Regions from separate parts of the Homo sapiens genome. Here region 1 is linked to region 2. The links are contacts of gene promoters, found by promoter capture Hi-C in blood cells and fetal thymus (Javierre and others, 2016). All regions are on one chromosome and are shown on one strand. The core of a region is centred on a gene start or on the middle of the fragment in contact, and the rest is flanking DNA. Distances in the headings are between cores, read along the strand shown. Region 1 holds the start of DAP (death associated protein). Region 2 holds the start of MED10 (mediator complex subunit 10).

Region 1 (6,106 bases), core at 1,715-4,214, 4.4 Mb before region 2:
CACATGCTCACTTGAGGCAATCTTCCCTTACCAGCCTCATGTTCCTAGAAGGTCATATACCAGTCAAACGTTGCCATTTTGCCTCTCGATGTGTGGCAAAGAGATCTTACCAGGAAGCTGCTGACCACCACTTTCAGGTTTTTTCTATCTACTGGGAGACTGCCTTTCCCTGGCACTGACTGCAACCAATTATTATTTTAGAGAAACAGTGTAACAACTTCCTGACCATCACCTGATGGTCACACAACATTTCTGGTGGTGTGGGTTGTGGGGGAAGAGTCCTCTCCTGCCCTGCTCAGGCCGACTAGCTACCTACTGTAAGACAACCAGAGTTTCCCAATCAGTACAAACCTGGAGAACAGGTCACAGGCAAAGAGACACAACCTGTCAGACCTCAGGGCAGTCCAGGGGCCACCAGGGCCCCTCTGGAGCTCTGCTCCTTCCTGTGAAGGCTTTCTCCCCCACCCCCCAGGGTTCCTTACCAATAGCATTTGTTATTGAGTCTAAGATGCTGTGGCTCGTAACATGCAACTTTGTTTTAGGTACCACTAAGGGTAAAAACACTACCAATTAAATGATACCACAATGTGCTCTTTCAACTTAAAATTTTCATTTTATACTTCCAAGAAATAATTCTTTAGGCTTAAGACATACGACATAAGTTTTTAACTATATAGCACTTTTGCACATACATAAAAAGGAAGTTACTCATGAAATTAATCAGTTAGGTATCCTTAAACCTTTAAGAACGTGAGTGATGTGCTATCTCTTTAAAGAGTAACCCAGTATTAATTTCAGGATTCTCTTCTAAACTGCTGGCACCCACTTGGAAGTTTGGATGTGAATGCAAGACAATGGCAAGCATATCATGACTGCAGCCTGGCCAACAATTATCCTATTACCGGTGTTGAAATGTGTGTATGGAGTGGGGAATGCAAGACCAATGTATGCTATGTGCATCTCCATGTGTGCCCTGATGCACAGAGTTGCGCAGCACTGAGTTAGACAACAAATAGAGAAGCCAAGGTGGCGGTGGTGAGTTTGGAGTTCAGTGGAGGGGCAGAAAGAGAGAAATTAAGTTGCAGATGTGGCACCCATAAGCGTCTGCAGGTGGTGGTGGTGGTGAGTCTGGAGTTCAGGGGAGGAGCAGAAATAGAGAAATGAGGTTGCAGATTTGGCACCTGTAAGCATCTGCATGATAGTCGTCCACAGGCTGCATGTGACTATCTATGGGAAGTCTAGATAGAGAAGAAGGCCAATGCTGAGCCTTGCGATACTCAAATGTTTATAAATCTAGAAGAGGGCGAACTGCCAAGCTGACAGAGTGAGCAGCCAGGGTGGCCAGAGAACTGGAGGGTAAGGCAGTGATGTGGCACCTCCGGAGCAAAGGAGGAGGGGGACGGCCAGCTGCATCAAGTGCTGCTAAGAGCTCAAATAGAATGAAAGTAGAAAATGACCATTGGATCTGGCAGCACATAGGTTATAAGTGACTTCCACAAAAGGACCTCCCATGGTTGAGGGCAGTGCAGCAGAACTTGATGAAAACCAGACAAACTGGACTGGAGGGAGTGACAAGAGATGAGGAGCTCAGCCTCCCTGAACAGTTTTGTTGTCAAAGGGAAAAGTACAGCCAAGCGAGGGGTGGTGTTTCCTTCGCTAAAGAGATTAGGCCTGTCTGAATGCGAATCCAGCAAGGCATTGCGGAAGTTAACAGCAGTTGCAAAACACTGGGGCAGGCGGGAAGAACACGATCCAAGGCACGAGAGCCAGGGGTCAGCCACGGCAACAGGAAGATGATGGTGAAAACCAAAAGTTTCTGAGAGTGGTCTCAATTTAGGAAGTTTATTTTGCCAAGGTTAAGGACGTGCATTGACACAACCTCAGGAGGTTCTGATGACATGTGCCCAGGGTGGCCAGGAAACATCTTGGTTTTATACATTTGAGGGAGACATGAGACATCAATCAATACGTAAGATGTAGGTTGGCTCTTTAGGAGGTAAAATGTGAAGTGGAGGCGTCCGGGTCATAGGTACATTTAAAGGTTTTCTGATTGGCAACTGGTTGAGAGTTATCATCTAAAGACCTGGACTCAGTAGAAGGGAATGTCCGGGTTGCATGAAGGAGTTGTGGAGACCAAGGTGTTATCATGCAGATGAAGCCGGGAATACACTGCAAATGTTTCTTATCAGAGTCCTCTATTAGTCTTAGGGTCTCCGTGCGGATGTTTGTGAGGCCATGTTTGACTTCCGCTTCCCATCAAGGCCTGAACTAGTTTTTCAAGATAACTTAGAAGGCCACAGGCGGAGGGGAGGGTCCATCCGTTGGCTGCAGGGCTTAGAATTTTATTTTTGGTTCATAACGAGGAGGGCAGGGACAGAAGCCACCGTCTCTGCTCCCCAGCGCTGGCCCTCACTCGGAAAGCAGGCTCTCCCCTCGCATCGTCTTTTAACAAATTCCTGCTCTCTCGGCCCCCGTCGCTGCCATCTGGGCTCTCCTTTCCGCGCTTCATTAGGCGCTGCCGCGGCAGGGGCTGAGGGCCTCAGGGGACGGTCGCCTCCCTGCCGGGACGCCCCGGCCCTGGCCCGCACTGTGGGGCGCAGTCACCCAGCCGTCGCCGCGTAGCCAGGAGCCCGGCTGAGCGCGTTCGCTGCAGGAGCCATCCTCAGCTGGGCCCTACTTAACTTTCCGCAACTCCAGTCCCCGCAGCCAGTCGGGGACCCCGCCTCCCTCTCCTTCCTTCTCCCTCTCACTTCTTCACCCCTTCTCTCCCCTCCCTCCTCCGCCCCCGCCCCCGCCCCCGCCCCCGCCCCCGGCCACAGCATCCGACGTGGCGCGGCCGGCTGCGCACGCACCGTATGCTTGGCTCGCGGCCCAGCAGGGCGGGCGGGCCGCGGTGACGTCAGTGCGCATGCCGTCGGTGGGCTCGGCTGCGCCACGTCGGCGCGCGGCGGCCGCGCCCCCTTAACGGCAGTGGCACTCACCCGGCTCGCGCGGCCCCGGCGCCCCACGCGCGCGCGTCGTTCTCCCGCCCGCTCGCTCCCCGGCGCTCACACCTGAGCTCACTCGCGCACGCCCGCCCGGCCCGAGAACCGCGCCGCCGCCTCGGCCCCGCGGAAGCCCCGCCGCGTCATGTCTTCGCCTCCCGAAGGGAAACTAGAGACTAAAGCTGGACACCCGCCCGCCGGTACTGACTCTTTTCCTCTCTCTCCACGCGCGGGTGCCGGGGGCGGGCTCGAACCCGGGGGCGCCGGGCGGGGGCTCCGCGGGGAGGGCCCCGGCGAGCGCTGAGACGGGTTCCGGGCCTTGATGCCCGCCCGAGGGGCGCGGGCCGCGGAGAGGTCGGGCGCCCAGGCCCGGGAGGAGCCCGCCGGAGCTTCGGCCCCGCTTGCCGGCGGCGGCGAAGCGTTTCTTCCTGAGGACCGCGGGCGGCCGCGTACCTGTGCGATTGCGCGCAGGCTCCGGTGCCTTGGGCGAACCCAGTTGCACAACTTATAACAAAGTTTTGGCGGATAATATTTACTTAGAGGATACAGATGTCTAGAAAGAAAGTAGCAGAAGCAATGAAAAGTCAGTGGTGTTAATATCATGGTGATGATTAATTAGAGGCTGCCAGCGTTTCATACCGACTCAAGAACCAAGGAGCGGAAATAATTTTTATCATTAATCACTCAATATGACTTTCACCGCCAGTTTCTTCCACATCCAGATTTTTTTTTTCCCCCAAAGTTGCTTTTTCTGATTTTGAGCAAATCCTAAACTTCTGAGCCAAGGAAGTTAAAGCCAGGAAAGAGCGGTCTTTCTTAGAACATAGGGATCTAAGCAGCCTTCATGCTTCTGCCACCTCCTCCTCTCTCTGGGCACAGTTCCTGTTTGCACTTTGGATTCTGTCCAGACGGGTCTGTTTCCGTTTCTACTCTCCTTTCCAGTGGCAGTCGGCCCATATGGAGGGACACTGGTGAGAAGATCAAAGGCCTTGGGTCTCAGAAGCCAAGTCACTTCAATGTATGGATGCGTGAGGTTCTTTTAGGTCTTAATAGCACGCCTTAGTGTCATAAACTCAGTCTTGTAGGAACAGAAGTCTTTGAGAAACATGGCTTCTTTTGGTGGCACATTTGCGCCATTTTCTTGACAATAAAGATTCCTGGCCAGGCGCGGTGGCTCATGCCTGTAACCCCAGCAGTTTGGGAGGCCAAGGAGGGTGGATCACTTGAGGTCAGGAGTTCAAGACTAGCCTGGATAACATGGTGAAACCCCATCTCTACTAAAAGTAGAAAAATTAGCTGGGCATGGTGGCGGGCGCCTGTAATCCCAGCTATTCAGGAGGCCGAGGCAGGAGAATGGCTTGAACCCGGGAGGCAGAAGTTGTAGTGAGCCAAGATTGAGCCAAAGCACTCCAGCCTTGGCGACAAAGCGAGCGAGACTCCATCTCAAAAAAAAAAAAAAAAAAAAAAAAGATTCCCATTATCCTTCTCTGCTGTCCTCCGCTATAGGGCGGGAATTCTCTGCACCAGCACAATGAATAGGAGCCGTTCTTTAAATATGTTGCAGTCCAGAGTAGGCAATATTTTTCAGTGGTGACGGAGGCTCTCTACAACAAAACTAACTGGCACTGGGAAAGAAAAATGTCTAACTGATGCCAGAGAACTTAAGAGGCATGGGGTTTTAGAAAATCATTCCACTGTGATGGAAAATGGTTTTGGGGGAATTTGTGTTGCATTGGTTTTAAGAAAAAAAGTACTTCAAAGGGAGTTTTTTTTTTGATGGGATTTCTTTTAAGGATAACTGACTTCCATTCCACCACAGCGGGTCCCTGTCCACTGTGGGGAGGAGCGCCTTGATTTCCACCCCGGGCAGGGCTGCCTCCAGGAACTGCAGCAGCCACCTGCTCTGGCCCTCCACTCCCCAGGACATGGGTTACATTAAAGCGTATCTGTTGGAATGATACAGAACCAAAGTACAGTAATTAAATTGCATACAGAGACACACCCATAAAGAAGTTTTTTGTTTTGTTTTTTGAAACAGAGTCTCACTCTGTCACCTGGGAGTGCAGTGGCACGATCTTGGCTCACTGCAACCTCCGCCTTCTAGGTTCAAGAGATTCTCCTGCCTCAGCCTCCCGAGTAGCTGGGTTTACAGGTGCCTGCCACCACACCTGGCTGATTTTTGTATTTTTAGTAGAGACCGGATTTTGCCATGTTGGCCAGGCTGGTCTTGAACTCCTGACTTCAGGTGATCCACCCACCTCAGCCTTCCAAAGTGCCCATATGGAGATTTTTAAGGTCAGAGGTATAAACTGTACATACTCACTCCCTGGGAGAAATTCCTTGCTGGACTCTGGTTTTCTTTGAATTGCAGAGTAAACAGCTAGGCTTTGTGAATTACAGAGTAAGTAGTTTATTTACCCCTGAGGAGGGAAGAGGCAGCTTATTTGTGCTAGTGTAGCAGTGAGCTTGGGTTCTAAGTTTGAAGACATCACTTCACGCTTCACTGGGGCTCAGTTTTTCTCCTTTATGAAATTCGAGGTTTGGGCCTCGGGGCAAGTCACAGGGTGGGGCTGTGTTTGCTGCAGTGAGTCTCACGTCCCGCTTCAGCATCAGGGTACCAGCACTGTTCATCCCCCAGGTAAACTCCTCTAGTAACTTCAGGGCAACCCCTTTAGACTTACGGGGTGAGCTCTTGCGGGTGGCTGTCACCATCTGTCATCTGTCTCCAAGACCATAGTTAGAGGAGGGGCCCAATAGCAGCACCCCTCAAATGCCAGCAGCATCCCTCAAATGCCAACAGCACCCCTCAAATGCCAACAGCACCCCTCAAATGCCAACAGCACCCCTCAGATGCCAACAGCACCCCTCAAATGCGCTTTCCTAGATGTTACAGAGGACCATGTGTGAACCTTTTCTGGCAGGAAGCTCTGGTGTTCTTGTTTAGTCTGGCATTGCCAGAGAGTAGGCAGCTCTGAAGGGTAGATAGTTTTTAAAAAAAAAAAAAAAAGGCGGCCCACTACACTAAAGGATAATCATCAAGGATAGCCAAGAGCACAGTTCATAAATCAAAATCACTGCCTTAAAAATGTTGAGAATGCTTTCATTAAGTGCTTAAATTGGAT
Region 2 (5,500 bases), core at 1,650-4,149:
TGAAGCAGAGCAACTCCATCTTGAATAGGAGCTGGGTAAAATAAGGCTGAAACAAACCTACTGGGCTGCATTCCCAGATGGTTAGGCATTCTAAGTCACAAGATGAGATAGGAGGTCGGCACCAAATACAGGTCATAAACACCTCACTGATAAAACAGTTTGCTGTAAAGAAGCCAGCTAAACCCCACCAAAACCAAGATGGCAACGAGAGTTCTCACTGCTATACTCCCACCACTGCCCTGACAGTTTCCAAATGCCATGACCTGTTAGGAAGTTACCCTAAATGGTCTAAAACGGGGAGGCATAAATAAGCCACCACTTGCTTAGCATACAATCAAGAAATAACCATAACAGCAAGTAACCAGTAGCCCTCGGGCCGCTCTGCCTATGGAGTAGCCATTCTTTATTCCTTTATTTTACTAATACACTTGCTTTTACTTTACTATATGGACTCACCCTGAATTCCTTCTTTCACAAGATCCAAGAACTCTCTCGGGGTCTGGACTGGGACCTCTTTCTGGAAACACAGATATCTCTTTGACATAGTGATTTCAATTCCTTTGAGTATTGTGAAAGGAAAATAAATTTTGGGGCCCCCAAATCACTAAGCTAAAGGGAAAAGTCATGCTGGAAAATGCTCAGGGACAACCTGCCTCCCATTCTATTCAAAGTGATCCCTTTGCTCACTGAGATAGGTGCATATCTGATTGCCTCCTTTGGAAAGGCAAATCAGAAACTCAAAATAATGTAACTATTTGTCTTTCACCTACCAGTGACCTGGAAGCCCCCTCCCTGCTTTGAGTTTTCCCGCCTTTCTGGACAGAACCAGTGTATACCTTACACTTACATATTGATTTATGTCTCATGTTTCCCTAAAATGTATAAAACCAAGCTGTGCCCTGACCACCTTGGGCTCATGTCATCAGGACCTCCTGAGGCCGTGTCATGAGTGTGTGTCTTCAACCTTGGCAAAATAAACTTTCTAAATTAACTGAGAACTGTCTCAGATATTCAGGGTTCACAGTATATACTCAGAAGTAGGACTGCTGGATCATATGGTAATTCTGTTTTTAGAGTTTTGGGAAACTTCCATTCTATTTTCCATAAAGGCTGCACTAATTTACATTCCCATCAACAGTGTACAAGGGTTCCCTTTCCTCCACATTTTCACCCACACCCATTGTCTTTGGTCTTTTTGATTATAGCCCTTCTAACAGTGTAAGGTGACATCTCATTATGCTTTTAATTTGTATTTCCCTGATGATATGTGATGCTGAGCATTTTTGCTGGTCATTTTTATGTCTTCTTTTGAGAAGTATCTGTTCAGGTCCTTTGCCCATTTATAAATTTCTTCTTTTGCTTTTTTGCTGTTGAGTCGTGTGCCTTTAATTTTTGCACTTTACGTTGTGAGTTTTATTTTCCATGCTTGTTCTTTGCTTCTTTATTCTCTTCTTTTCTTGCCTTCTATTGAGTTGATTGTGTTTTCTTTATTCCCTTCCCCCTGTCTACTAGTTTGGGAATTATATATACTAGCAAAGAGATACCCTTAAATTTTTAAAATAAATACTTACCAAAGCCTAAGTTCCATCAATTATCTATCTTTCTTACTTATGAAATTGAGAAAGGCCGTTCACTCCATGTCGCTACCTCTACCTAATAACTTAAAATTTTTTATTTGTCTAATATTTTATTTCCACCTTTTTTTTTTTTTTTTGAGTCTTGCTCTGTTGCCCAGGCTGGAGTGCAGTGGCATGATCTCGGCTTACTGCAACCTCTGCCTCCTGGGTTCAAGCAATTCTCCTGTCTCAGCCTCCCAAGTAGCTGGGACTACAGGCGCACACCACCATGTCTGACTAATTTTTGTATTTTTAGTAGAGACAGGGTTTCTCCATATTGGTCAGGTCGGTCTCGAACTCCTCACCTCAGGTAATCCACCTGCCTTGGCCTTCCAAAGTTCTGGGATTACAGGCCTGAGCCACCACGCCCAGCCTCCATCTTGTTTTATAATTCCCTAAAGTTAATTGTTGTTAAATCAGGAGAGAAGTATTTTATGTAACATTTCTGTTTATCAGCCCAGCCCACCAACTGGAGTGCCCTGATTCCATAAGTTTGGCAAGTCACTTACCTTCTCTGGCTTTCCATTTCTGGTCACAGCTGGGAGAGGCTCTGAAGATCATCTAGCAAAGGAGCTCCCTCACTTTGCCTGTTTCTAGGCACTGAAAAGTACAGGCCACAAATATATTCAGTAAAATAAATCACTTGAGAAATTCAAACAGGCTAGAGGAGATATCCGCTATCATAGGAGATCGGGCAGAAAAGTTTCTTAAACATAAGAGTGAAATGACCTAAACTGAATTTCAATGAGATAAACAGCAGTTTACTAAGACAGGGCAACCCCACAGGGTGCTGTTTGGTCAGAATTGGCCCGAGGAGGTGAGACCCTGACCTACGAAGGCAGCAGGTGTCCGGGAAGCATGGTTAGCAGCAAGAGCTAGGGGAGGTGGCCGCCGATTACATAGAAGAAAGGAGGCAGGCAGGCGCTGATCCCAGGGGTTCTGGTAGAGGGGCAGGGAAACTACCGTTATTGGTCCTTCATGCAAACTTTAGGATTTTCATCCATGTGTGTATTGCTTGAAGATGCTGCATTGCAGAAAGTCTTCAACTTCTCCCATGACCGAGGCAGGTCTGATGAGAGTGCAAACAGTTAGTACTCGCCCAGCTGCGCGCCGAGGCCTCCTCCAGAATCCAGACCGCATCCCCGAAAGCCCGCCCTGCCCCGCACTTAGGCCCCGCCCCAACACGCCCGTCCCGATAACGAGGCTCCGCCCCCAAGAGCTCGCCCGCGCTCCCCCAGAGGAAACGGAAGTCGTATCTGTCCGGACGGAAGCAGGAAGCGGGAGCGTAGGGCCACGCCTGCGGCGCTGCTGGTTGAGGCTGTGTGGGTCGGGGACGGGCCGAGGCGATGGCGGAGAAGTTTGACCACCTAGAGGAGCACCTGGAGAAGTTCGTGGAGAACATTCGGCAGCTCGGCATCATCGTCAGTGACTTCCAGCCCAGCAGCCAGGCCGGGCTCAACCAAAAGCTGTGAGTGGCGGCCCGAGGCTGCCGGGGTCTCCCCAGGGCCTGGCCGGGAAGCGTGTGCTAGGGGAGCGGGGATCTAGGGAGCCCGAGCCGAGCCTGACCGCTACTCGTGCCCCGCCAGCCCTCTGGTCTGGTCCCGGAGCCCGGGGCGCCTTTCCTGGCTGTGTTCAGAGGGCGGGGCCCGCGCTCCAGCCTGTTGCCAAGAGCCAACCTCTTTGAGGCCCCTTTGGAGACGTCGTCATGGCCAGATGATATACTTTACGTTTCCCTATCAAGGGAATCATGCTTTCTCTTCTAGCGTCTCCCCTCTCATGTGTAACCCCCTCCCAGCCTTTTCCTCCTGGAGCCCTTCTGGGAATTCAGTCCCTGTCTCCAGAGGGGAGGCAGGCTCCACAGTGAGTGCACGCCCTAAACTAGGCCTCAGAAGGTGAGGCTCCGAAGCCACCTGCCGCATAGGCCTGACAGTGGAGGAAATAGCGGGGAGGTGGTGCTGAGAAAGGTTGCAGAACGTTTATTATTATTATTTCTTGGCAACAGCCTTGTGCTGCCCATGTTGCTAGGCCCTGGGTTGGAGAAAAGGCAAATGCAAGTACAGCACTTTCGAGAAGGGCTTTATATGTGGCACGGACATAGAAAATGTTGCACTCGAGGTTCCATACCTAGTGCTGTGGGAATAGCCAGACCAGCCTGATGCTGTAGGAAGGCTCCAGAGAGGAGAGGAAGCTAAACCAGACAGTATGGCTTTCTTTCCCTCAGACTTTGAGTATAGTCCGCTGCCTCATGTGTTCGCTGAAACCGCACACACAGTCATATGCACAGTCAGGTAATTGTTTTTGAGAGAAGGTTCATATTTTTCATCAGGTTCCCTCTCCATCCCCCTTACTGGCAATTTCTAGTTGAGAAGGAAAGTAACAAATATTTAAGGGTATTTTGTAACTCTAACGGTGTCCTAGGAATCCTGTAGCTAACCAAAGAGGTCAGAACCGTGTGTAACCCGCATAGCTGTGAGGAGAACGAACTTGCGTGGAGCCCCGGTTGGCTGGGTAGCTCTGTGGGTGGTGCTTATGCTGTCAAGCGAAATTAACCAGATGCCTGTGTGTTTGCCTTTCCCCCAGGAATTTTATTGTTACTGGCTTACAGGATATTGACAAGTGCAGACAGCAGCTTCATGATATTACTGTACCGTTAGAAGTTTTTGAGTAAGTAACATTCTTGATATTAGTCTTGGGTATAAATCTTGTTCAGTTATGGTGTGGTATCGTGACTTCTTCATCACTGGCATTCGAGTGCCTGCTGTGTGGTAGGCACAGCCTGGGTGCTGGGGATGTGCCAGTGGAAAAAAAAATAGACAAAAATACAAAAATACCTGCCCTTATGGAACTTCCGTTCTAATGGCATTACAAAACGAAAAAAAAGAATATCCTTAATATTCTATTGTGGAAAAAAAGTTACATGTAAATAAAAGCTTATTAAATATATGAAATACATCATAGGTCCTCAAAGCCCTGCTTAGGCTAAAGAACAGCCACAAAACTTTCTTTTTTCCTTAAGAGGTGAAAAGTCCTATGAGGGCTATATTGTAAATTTTTAAAAAATGGCAGCCAGAAGCACCTGAAAAGCAAGCTGGTCTGATGTTCCCAAACTGCCCGTGGAGTGCTAGTTCTGAGAGGTGAAAATATCTGCTCTGTCGAAGGAGGAAAGAAAGGGTTCTTATTCCAAGTATGTTTGGGGAGGCTGCTCACTGTTTTCTGTGCGAGAGTTGTGTGCACCTATGTTAGTAATAGTCCTGAGAACACATACAGGAATGAGCTTTTAGATTTTTAAAATCCAGGTTTTCTTGCATTGATTTGGTCACATCTCTGATTTCACACATGAAGGACCTGATAAGTAACTGCAATAGGTTGTTTACCTAGTAAGTGTCAGAGTTAAGACGAAACCCCCGGACTCATACTTTCTTGACCAGTGCAAAGCAGCCTCTCCCTGATGGTGCTGGCTTGGAACAGCAAGAACATTCTAGTATTTCTTGCAGCAAAACTGCAAATGTAAATCACTAGATTTCGTTAAGCAGTAAAGGGAAAGAGTTATGGCTGTTTTCCATCCCAAAAGGTCAGAGATACAAGTTCTAGCTATAGTGCAGCAGCTGCCTACAAAGACAGGACACAGAGGTGGTTTTCTTGGTCTCTGATCTTCTGTTCACCTGCTGATGACTTTGCCCCATGTTCCTTACCTGTGCTCAGTGGGCACCACTGAGGTCTCTGACTTCAGGTGGGACGAAGGTCTTGCACCTCAGGTAGCTCCAGACTCAGCTTTGGCTTTCTCAGTCCAGGAATACAGAGCATCCTCCTTTGTGCTCTTCTGATTATGAATGCAGGGGATGCATATAGTGACAAGTGGCAAGTAACTACTTGTGTCTTCTGAA

The links. Contacts are between HindIII fragments. The CHiCAGO score rates a contact against its expected background, and 5 or more counts as called.
Region 1: the fragment with the promoter of DAP here is called in contact with the fragment with the promoter of MED10 in region 2 in 4 of 17 cell types (non-activated CD4 T cells, naive CD8 T cells, naive CD4 T cells and 1 more); the score reaches 10.9 in non-activated CD4 T cells.

What each region holds. Positions count from the first base shown.
Region 1 is chr5:10,758,092-10,764,197 of GRCh38, reverse strand. DAP (death associated protein) reads left to right here and starts at 2,964. Exons shown (of 4, transcript NM_004394.3): 1 at 2,964-3,184. The coding sequence starts at 3,130. DAP-DT (DAP divergent transcript) reads right to left here and starts at 3,162. Exons shown (of 3, transcript NR_187555.1): 1 at 2,982-3,162. RefSeq lists silencers at 2,429-2,898, 2,979-3,408 and an enhancer at 2,061-2,906. The HindIII fragment of the contact is 9,246 bases long and covers 1-6,106 here.
Region 2 is chr5:6,375,946-6,381,445 of GRCh38, reverse strand. It overlaps MED10 (mediator complex subunit 10), which reads left to right and starts at 2,899. Exons shown (of 4, transcript NM_032286.3): 1 at 2,899-3,084; 2 at 4,197-4,280. The coding sequence starts at 2,963. RefSeq lists enhancers at 2,445-2,664, 2,955-3,164. The HindIII fragment of the contact is 6,030 bases long and covers 1-4,548 here.